2 separate regions of the Homo sapiens genome follow, and region 2 is linked to region 1. Evidence: promoter capture Hi-C in human tissues and cell types (Jung and others, 2019). All regions are on one chromosome and are shown on one strand. Each heading gives the region's core, a stretch centred on a gene start or on the middle of the fragment in contact. The rest is flanking DNA. Distances are from core to core; before and after follow the strand shown.

Region 1 (5,054 bases), core at 1,904-4,403:
AAATCTGAGAGTTTTTGTGAACACCTCCATCTTTCAAGTTCTGCCAAATATTTCTGCTAAGTATTTCTCAAATCCCCTCCTTTTTAATACCATTGCCACTGCCTTCAATCGAGCTCTTATCTCAACCGGGAAACTACAATTCCCTACAGATATTGTGCCTCCACCTCTTTGCCTCTTCAATCCACCCTTCCAACTGCTGCACTATGATCTTTCAATACTGTAACTGTCATTATTTTGGTACATAAATCCTTCAAAAAAAATTAGGGGGTGAATCATTCCGTGGTTTCTCATCACTGTATTTGATAAAATTTAAATCACTCTAGCCAGTTGAAATTCAAGGTGTAGCAAAATCTGGTAGCAGTCTCACTTCCTGCCTCATACACTAACTTACTGGGTAATATGTCATCTCCTGAACGCACCACATACTCTCACTCAGCTAACCTTTGCATATGCTGTCCCTTTCCACTCCTCCTCCATCATCCCCATTACCTCTATTGTAAAGTCCCTTGACTCCACCACACGGAATCAATAACTTTATTCTCTGAGCTACCTTTGCACTATATATATGTATATATAGGACATATATAACATATAATATATAATATATACAACATATATGTAATATATATAACATATATAACACACATATATATATGTTTGTTTTTGTTTTTTTTAGGATAGAGTCTCGCTCTGTCACCCAGGCTGGAGTGCAGTTCCAGGTTCGAGCGATTCTTGTGCCTCGGCCTCCCCAGCAGCTGGGACTCCAGGCATGCACCACCACGCCTGGCTAATTTTTGTATTTTTAGTAGAGACAGGGTTTTGTCATGTTGGCCAAGCTGGTCTTGAACTCCTGGCCTCAAGTGATCCGCCCGCCTCGGCCTCCCAAGGTGTTGGGATTACACCGCACCCGGCCCCTTCTACATATTGTTATCAATGAACATCTCTCATTGAATTACAGTTACCATTTCTGATCAATATAAGATGCTATCAACTACATGATGCACCACTATTTCCTGCATCACTAACAAAATAATATGGCAATTAAACTCTGCCACGCCAGCACTGTTAAGACATATTCTGACTGGGGGCAGTGGCTCAAACCTGTAATCCTAGCACTTTGGGAGGCTGAGGTGGGAAGACCGCCTGAGCTCAGGAGTTCAAGACCCATCTCTATTAAAAAAAAAAAAAAAAAAGACATATTCCAACTTCAGCTGTTTAAATGTGGGAAAAAATGTACAACGAAGAATCAGTGAAATACGGTGTCTATTTACCTAACAGACTCATCTACAAGACTGAGCTTCTTGATGACAAGAGCCTATACCTGCCACATAGCAAGTACTCAAAAAACATTTTTGTGAAATAGAAAAAATCCAACATATCAGCTCATTTTCCTGTCCTAATTAGTTTAGTAAACTGGATATGGTGGAATTTTAATTTAAGACTCTAAATTCTCAGAATTTTACATCTGTTCCTTTTCCAGGATGGGAGATACATCTAATTCCTGTACCCTGCTTCATTAAAAATCAAGCCCCATGAACCCAAAGTAGGAGAGTGGCCATGGGAGGCAGGAGGCTTAATAGAACCACAGAGTTCTGGATGTTTAAAACCTAGGATGCAATTTCTAGTCTATAAAAATCCTCAAGAATTGAACCTCTACTCTACTAAAAAGGCTTTTGTCTTTTTTGAGGATTTTAATGTTTTTCTCCTTCCAAGTTTAGGGGTGATGTGATTTTCTTGGGGAACATGAAGGAAAAATCTTATTTTTGTTGTTTCCTACCTGTAAAATGACATCCTTTATAGAAACAGCATCACTACTAGACACAGTAACAACAGCAATAGTCTGGATTTGTTTTCTGGGTCTCTAACTCATCAAACACAACCCAACACATGAATTATATGTATCAGTGTTTCGATTAACCTGCAGATCTTGCAAAAATGGAGGCTCTAAATCAGTAGATTCTGAATGACGCGTGAGATCCTGCATTTCTAACAGGCTTGCAGGTGATGCTGACACTGCTGGTCCATGGGCCAGACTTTAAGTGGCAAATGCAGCATTATTTCATTTAACCTTCATGCCCACCCCCATCGGCTAGGAATTATTCCATAAATGAGGCCTGAAGTTGGAAAGTTACATAAACTGCCCAAGACCAAAGCGCTTAATAAAGAGTGAGGTGGATATTTCAACCCAGGTCTGTAACCCCCGGCACCTGGTAATCTTCCTACCACACCACAGTCTAATCAAAGAAAGTGAAAAAATAACACGCCTAGGACCCCCAGCAAACTTTCTGGGCATCCTTAAATTACACGTGCTCCTGAATTGATCTCAAACAGACCCGCCCACGAGTCACTCTGGAGACTCCGCAGCCAAAAAACAGGCAAGAGTTACTGAAAGGTGAGGCAGCTCGCGCATGGGGCGCAGACGGGGAGGAGGCAGTACCCTAAGTGGCCGCCGCTTCCCTAGTCAGTTCTACGGCTTGAGGCTCGCTTTGCCACCTATGGGACACTCTGGGAACCCTCCGTCCACGCTTGCAAACCGCCGGGACCTTCCAAGTTTAGGCGGGCGCACACGCGTCCCGACACAGCTGAGTCCAGGAGGCACTCGGGGAGATGCGACCCTGGGGCGGTCACCCAAGCCGGGGCCCGGCGGCCGGCTAGACTGAGCCTCCCGCCCAGCCCCGAGGCTCCCTAGAGAACCGAGCGCGCACCCCAAAACCCTGCTCCTCCGGGGACAGAGGCAGGAAGAGGCCACAGAGAGCCGCCACTTCAGGGAGCCCGAGGAGCACGGCGAGCCGGGTGGGCTCCGGGGGCGGGCAGAGCGTGGGGCGGGGACGGGGCGGGGAGGCCGGGGTCCCGAGAGGGGGAGACCGGAAGGGAACGCCGGGGAGGGGAGGGCTGGGAGCGGCGGTTACAAACCCCACACGCCGAAAAGGCGCGCTCTCTCGTCCGGCCGCACTCACTCACCTCCCCCGTACACGCCGCCGCTCATGGCTGCTGCCGGCGCGACTCCTACCCTAAGGGCTAACTGGCGAAGTGACTGCAGTGGCCGCGACTGCGAGTCTCGAGGAGCGATAGCCCCTGACTCCCTTAACTTCCACCGCCACCCACCTCAGGCAACAAAGCGGCGTCCACACACCCCGGAGCTCAGCCACACTTGCTGGCTCCTCCTATCAGCCAATCACTAGGGTCCAGGCCTAAGTCTAGCCAATCAGAATGCGGCTGCGCCGCATCCCCGCCGCGGCCCAGCAGGTTTAGCCAATCGAAGGCAGCCATGGGGGCGGGAAAGAGGAAAGCGACAGCAGGACAGAAGGAGTTGGGTTGCGGAGCTGGAGGGGGCGGAGCTTCCCGGGTGGGCGAGGGAATGGGCGGAGGCAGTGGGAGAAGAAGGAGGAAGGCTGGAAGAAGCATGGGGGCGGGACTAGGAGGTGCGTCTGGGCGCTGAGGAGCGGCGGGAACCCGGGTAGGGGAAGGTAGACCCCTGGAAATTGAACGGGTGTCTCCACGCCGAGATTCCTGTCCAGTGACTGTGGGGAATGCGGATTTCTTTCTTTTTTTCTTCAGAAAAAGTATTTTAAACTAACTTTTATGTTGAAAAAGTAAAAATTTTGCGCTCCACTTTGGGATAGGGGAATCAGTAAATCAGACAAATTGATAGGATCTTGCAGTTTTTAAAATGGTTATTAATAAGTAAAAGAAGAATGAAATTATGCGGTATCCCAGCTAAACCTAGGTAGCGCTTTAAAAACTATTAAAAAACTTACTCATTTCTTTAAAAAAAAAAAAAAATTTCAGGCCGGGCGTGGTGGCTCATGCGTGTAATCCGAGCACTTTGGTAGGCCGAGGCGGGCAGATCACAAGGTCAGGAGTTCGAGACCAGCCTAGGCAACACAGTGAAACCCTGTGTCTACTAAAAATGAGAAAAGTAGCCGGGCCTGTAGTCCCAGCTACGCAGGAGGCTGAGGCAGGAGAGTCGCTTGAACCCGGGAGGCAGAGGTTGCAGTGAGCCGAGATTGCGCCACTGCACTCCAGCCTGGGCGACAGAGCAAGACTCTGTCTCAAAAAAAAAAAAAATCAATTTCTTTTATCCTGTGAGAGGTATTTAAAACAGCTAATCAATCTTCATTCAAGCAAGCACCCAATCCTAAATAGGCATCCCAAAAACAGCCTTAGTCCCCTATTTCTACCAGCCTAGTCCAGATCACCTTCCTTTATCCCCAGATTACTGCAACAACTTGTTGCTGTGTCCCTTTGCCACTCTTGATCAAGGGAGCTTCATCTGTGAAAACGCCCAAACCCGATCAGGACACTCCAGCGCTCAAACCCTTAAGATTGCTGCCTATCCTTGTAATTGATCCTTGTCTAGAGTCTAGACATGCAGTGCCTACTTTTAACCTTAGAAACGATTGACTAAAACCCCATCAGTCTCAGTGGCAGAGGGTGGCAGAAAGTGATGAGGCAGTAGGGTGGGAAAAAAGGCTAGCGGGAAAACTCTTTCCCATTCACTTGACAATATAATCACAGTGTATCTGACCATTTAGAAAAGCCCTATTAACCCAGTGAGATAATGCAGATGTGTGTCAGCACACTATGGCACTAGGGCCAAATCCAGTCTTTTGTGTGTGGGGTGGGGAGGGGAGGTGGGGAAAAGGGGAAGCAGGTGGGAAGACTGCCTTTTTTTTTTTTTTTTTTTGGCCTTGAGCTAAGAATGATTATTTCTGTTTTTAAATTATTATTTAAAATATTTTAAAGAATAATATGTGACAGGTTGGGCATGGTGGCTCACAGCTGTAATCCTAGCACTTTGGGAGGTCCAAGCAGGAGGATCGCTTGAGGCCAGGAGTTCAAGACCAGCCTGGGCAACACAGGGAGACCCCCGTCTCTACAAAAAATTTTAAAATTATCTGGGTATGGTGGTGCATGCCCCCTAGCTACTCTGGAGGCTAGGGTGAGAGGATTGCTTGAGCCTGGGAGTTCAAAGCTTCAGTGAGTCGTGATCTCCCCACTGCACTCCAGCCTGGGTGACAAAGCAAGTCCCTGAAAAAAAAAAAAAAAAAGAA
Region 2 (5,054 bases), core at 1,719-4,218, 510 kb after region 1:
TTTTCTCCTACTCTATGGGTTGTCTGTTTACTCTGCTGATTATTTCTTTTGCTGTGCAGAAGCTTTTTAGTTTAATTAAATCTCATCTATTTATCTTTATCTTGTTGAAGTCTTTGCTTAAGTCAATGTCTAGAAGAGTTTTTCCAATGTTCTAGAATTTTTATGGTTTCAGGTTTTAGATTTAAGTCTTTGATCCATCTCTAGTTGATTTTTGTATAAGGTGAGAGATGAGGATCCAGTTTCGTTATTCTACGTGCGACTTGCCAATTATCTCAGCACCATTTGTTCAATAGAGTGTCCTTTCCCCACTTTATGTTTTTGTTTGTTTTGTTGAAGATCAGTTGACCGTAAGTATTTGGCTTTATTTCTGGGTTCTCTATTCTGTTTTATTGGTCTAAATGCCTGTTTTTATACCAGTACCATGCTGTTTTGGTGACTGTAGCCGTATGCTATAGTTTGAAGTCAGGTAATGTAAGACCTCTAGATTTGTTCTTTTTGCTTAGTCTTGCTTTGGCTATGCAGGCTCTTTTTTGGTTCCATATAAATTTTTTTCTAGTTCTGTGAAGAATGATGATGGTATTTTGATGAGAATTGCATTGAATTTGATGATGGTATTTTGATGGGAATTGCATTGAATTTGTGGATTGCTTTTTGCAGTGTGGTCATTTTCACAACACTGATTCTACCCATCATGAGCATGGTTTGTGTTTCCATTTGTTTGTGTCATCTGTTATTTCTTTCAGCAGTGTTTTGTACTTTTCTTTGTAGAGGTCTTTCAGCTCTTTGGTTAAGTATATTCCTATGTATTTTATTTTATTTTTTTTGTAGGTATTGTAAAAGGGGCTGAGTTCTTGATTTGATTCTCTGCTTGGTAGCTGTTGGTGTATAGTGGTGTATAGCAGAGCTACTGATTTGTATATATTAATTTTGTATCCTAAAACTTTGCTGAATTCATTTACCAGTACCAGAAGCTTTTTGGATAAGTCTTTAGGGTTTTCTAGATACACAATCATTTTCATTAGCAAACAGTGACAGTTTGACTTCCTCTTTATTGATTTGGATGCCCTTTATTTCTTTCTCTTGTCTGATTGCTCTGGCTAGGACTTCCAGTACTAGGGTGAATAGAAGTGGTGAAAGTGGGCATCCTTGTCTTGCTCCAGTTCTCAGGGGGAATGCTTTCAACTTTTCCGCATTCAGTATAATGTTGGCTGTGGGTTTGTCATAGATGGCTTTTATTACCTTAAGGTGTGTTTCTTCTATGCTGATTTTGCTGAGGGTTTTAACCATAAAGGGATGCTAGATTTTGTCAAATGCTTTTTCTGTGTCTATTGAGGTGATCATATGATTTTTGTTTTTAATTCTTTTATGTAGTGTATCACATTTATTGACTTGAGGATGTTAAACCATCCCTAGATGTAAAACCATCCCTAAATCCCTGGTGTGAAACCCACTTGATCATGGTGGATTATCTTTTTGATATGCTGTTGGATTTGCTTAGCTAGTATTTTGTTGAGGATTTTTGCATCTGTGTTCATCAGGGATATTGGTCTGTAGTTTTCTTTTATTTGGAATATCCTTTCCTGGTTTTGGTGTTAGGGTGATATGGACTTCATAGAATGATTTCGGGAGGATTCCCTATTTCTTTGTCTTTTGGAGTAGTGTCAGTAGGATTGGTACCAGTTCTTCTTTGAATGTCTGATAGAATTCAGCTGTGCATCTTTCTGGTCTTGGACTTTTTTTTTTGTTGGTAACTTTTTAATTACCATTGCAATCTTGCTGCTTGTTATTGGTCTGTTCAGTTTCTATGTATTCTTGGTTTAATCTAGGAGGGTTGTATATTTCTACCCATCTCCTTTAGGTTTTCTAGTTTATGCACATAAAGGTGTTCATAATAGCCTTGAATGATTTTTTGTATTTCTGTGGTATTTGTTGTAATATCTCCCATTTCATTTCTAATTGAGCTTATTTGGATTTTCTCTCTTATTTTCTTGGCTAACCTCAATAATTGTTTATTAGTTTTATTTATCTTGTCAAAAAACCAACCTTTTGTTTCACTTAATCTTTTGTATTTTTTTTGTTTCAATTTCATTTAGTTCTGTTCTGATCTTGACTATTTCTTTTCTTCTGCTGGGTTTGGGTTTGGATTGTTTTGTTTCTCCAGTTCTGTGAGGTGTGACCTTACATTGTCTATTTGTGTTCTTTTAGGCTTGGCTTTTTTTTTTTTTTTTTTTTTTTTTTGAGACGGAGTCTTGCTCTGTCACCCAGACTAGAGTGCAGTGGCGCGATCTTGTCTTACTGCCAGCTCTGCCTCCCAGGTTCATGCCATTCTCCTGCCTCAGCCTCCCGAGTAGCTGAGACTACAGGCGCCCACCACCACGCCCAGCTAATTTTTTGTATTTTTAGTAGAGACGTGGTTTCACCATGTTAGCCAGGATGGTCTTGATCTCTTGACCTCGTGATCCGCCTGCCTTGGCCTCCCAAAGTGCTGGGATTACAGGCATGAGCAACCATGCCCAGCCCCTTTCAAACTTTTTGATGTAGGCAGTTAATGCTATTAGCACTGCCTTTGCTGTATCACAGAGGTTTTCATAGGTTGTATCACTATTATCGTTCAGTTCAAATAATTTTTTAATTTCCATCTTGATTTTATTGTTGACCCAACAATCATTCAGGAGCAGGTTATTTAATTTCCATGTATTCGCATGGTTTTGAGGGTTTCTTTTGGAGTTGATTTCCAATTTTATTCCACTGTGGTCTGAGAAAGTACTTGCTATAAGTTCGATTTTCTTAAATTTGTTGAGACTTGTTTTGTGGCTATCATATGGTCTACCTTGAAGAATGTTCCATGTGCTGATGAATAGAATGTATATTCTGCAGTTGTTGGGTAGGATCCTCTGTAAATATCTGTGAAGTGCATTTATTGTAACGTATAGTTTATTGTTTCTTTGTTGACTTTCTGTCTTAAAGACCTGTCTAGTGCTGTCAGTGGAGTATTGAAGTCCCCCACAATTATTGTATTGCTGTCTATCTCATTTGTTAGGTCTAGTAGTAATTGTTTTATAAGTTTGGAAGCTCCAGTATTAGGTGCATATATATTTAGGATTGTGATGTTTTCCTTTTGGACTAGTCCTTTTATTATTGTATTATGTCCCTCTTTGTCTTTTTTAACTGCTGTTGCTTTGAAGTTTATTTTGTCTCAAATAAGAATAGCTACTCCTGCTCACTTTTGTTGTCCATTTGCATAGAATATCTTTTTTCACCCTGTTACCTTAAGTTTATGTGAGTCCTTATGTATCACGAGTCTCTTGAAGATAGCAGATACTTGGTTGGTGAATTCTTATCCGTTTTGCCATTTGGAATATTTTAAGTGGAGAATTTAGGCAATTTGCATTCAATGTTAATATTGACATGTGAAGTACTATTTTGTTCATTGTGCTGTTTTTTTTTTTTTTTTGCCTGAATACCTTGGGTTTTTTTCCATTGTGTTATTTTATAGGTCCTGTGAGATTTATGCTTTAAGGATTTCCTATTTTTGTGTATTTGGAGGATTTGTTTCAAGATTTAGAACTCCTTTTAGTAGTTCTTGTAATGCTGGCTTGGTAGTGGCAAATTCTCTCAGAAGTTTTTTGTCTGACAAAGACAGTATCTTTCCTTCATTTATGCAGCTTAGTTTCACTGGATACAAAGTTCTTGGCTGATAATTGTTTTGTTTAAGAAGGCTAAAGATAGGACCCCAGTCCCTTCTAGCTTGTAGGGTTTCGGCTGAGACATCTGCTGTTAATCTGATAGGTTTTCCTTTATAGGTTACCTGATGCTTTTGCCTCACAGCTCTTAAGATTCTTTCTTTCATCTTGACTTTAGGTAACCTGATGACTGTATGCCTAGGCGATGATCTTTTTGCAATGAATTTCCTAGGTGTTCTTTGAGCTTCTTGTATTCGGATGTCTAGATCTCTAGCAAGGCTGAGGAAGTTTTCCTCAATTATTCCCTCAAATATGTTTTGCAAACTTTTAGATTTCTCTTCTTCCTCAGGAACAGCAATTATTCTTAGGTTTGGTCGTTTATCGTAATCTCAAACTTCTTCGAGGCTTTGTTCATTTTTTAAAAATTCTTTTTTCTTTGTCTTTATCAATTTGGGTTAATTCAAAAGCCTTATATTTGAGCTCTGAAGTTCTTCTACTTGTCCGACTCTATTGCTGAGACTTTTCAGTGCATTTTGCATTTCTCTGAGCGTGTCCTTCATTTCCAGAAGTTGTGATTGTTTTTTATTTATGCTATCTATTTCACTGAACATTTTCCATTCATACCTGTATTATTTTTTGATTTATTTAAGTTGGACTTCACCTTTCTCTGGTGCCTCCTTTTTTTTTTGAGACTGAGTCTTACTCTGTCACCCAGGCTGGAGTGCAGTCACATGATCTCAGCTCACTGCAACCTTTGCCTCCCGGACTGAAGTGATTCTCCTGCTTCAGCCTCCTGAGTAGCTGAGACTATAGGCGAGCACCACCACATCCGGCTATTTTTTTTTTTTGTATTTTTAGTAGAGATTGGGTTTCACCATGTTGGTCAGGCTGGTCTTGAACTCCTGACCTCAGGTGATCTGCCTGCCTCAGCCTCCCAAAGTGCTGGGATTACAGGCGTGAGCCACCACGCTCGGCCTGGTGCCTCCTTGATTGGATTAGTAGTTGACCTTCTGAATTCTTTTTCTGGCAATTCAGATATTTCACCTTGGTTTGGATCCACTGCTGGTGAGCTAAGGTGATCTTTTGGGGGTGTTAAAGAACCTTGTTTTGTCATGTCACAAGAATTATTTTTGTGGTTCTTCCTCATTTGGGTAGACTATGTCAGAGGGAAGATCTGGGACTCAGAGGCTGCTCTTCAGATTCTTTTGTCCCACAGGGTGCTCCCCTGATGTGGTGCTCTCACCTTTCCTCTAGGATGGGGCTTACTGAGAGCTGAACTGCAATAATTGTTATTTTTCTTCTGGATCTAGCCACCTAGTGGAGCTACTGGGCTCTGGGTTGGTACTGGGCAGTGTCTGCAGGGAGTCCTGT

The links. The method cuts DNA at HindIII sites, captures the fragments that hold promoters and counts their contacts. A contact is called where the count stands out against the background at its distance.
Region 2: a contact is called between a fragment that was not itself captured here and the fragment with the promoter of ACTL6A in region 1, in 1 of the 25 tissues and cell types used here (dorsolateral prefrontal cortex).

Annotation. Positions count from the first base shown.
Region 1 is chr3:179,561,025-179,566,078 of GRCh38, reverse strand. ACTL6A (actin like 6A) reads right to left here and starts at 3,153. Exons shown (of 14, transcript NM_004301.5): 1 at 2,962-3,153. The coding sequence starts at 2,986. RefSeq lists silencers at 273-332, 3,062-3,291. The HindIII fragment of the contact is 12,889 bases long and covers 1-5,054 here.
Region 2 is chr3:179,047,176-179,052,229 of GRCh38, reverse strand. The region is part of intron 2 of ZMAT3 (zinc finger matrin-type 3); the gene reads left to right. Among named protein-coding and RNA genes, the nearest start is that of ZMAT3, 22 kb to the left of the region's middle. The HindIII fragment of the contact is 4,901 bases long and covers 518-5,054 here.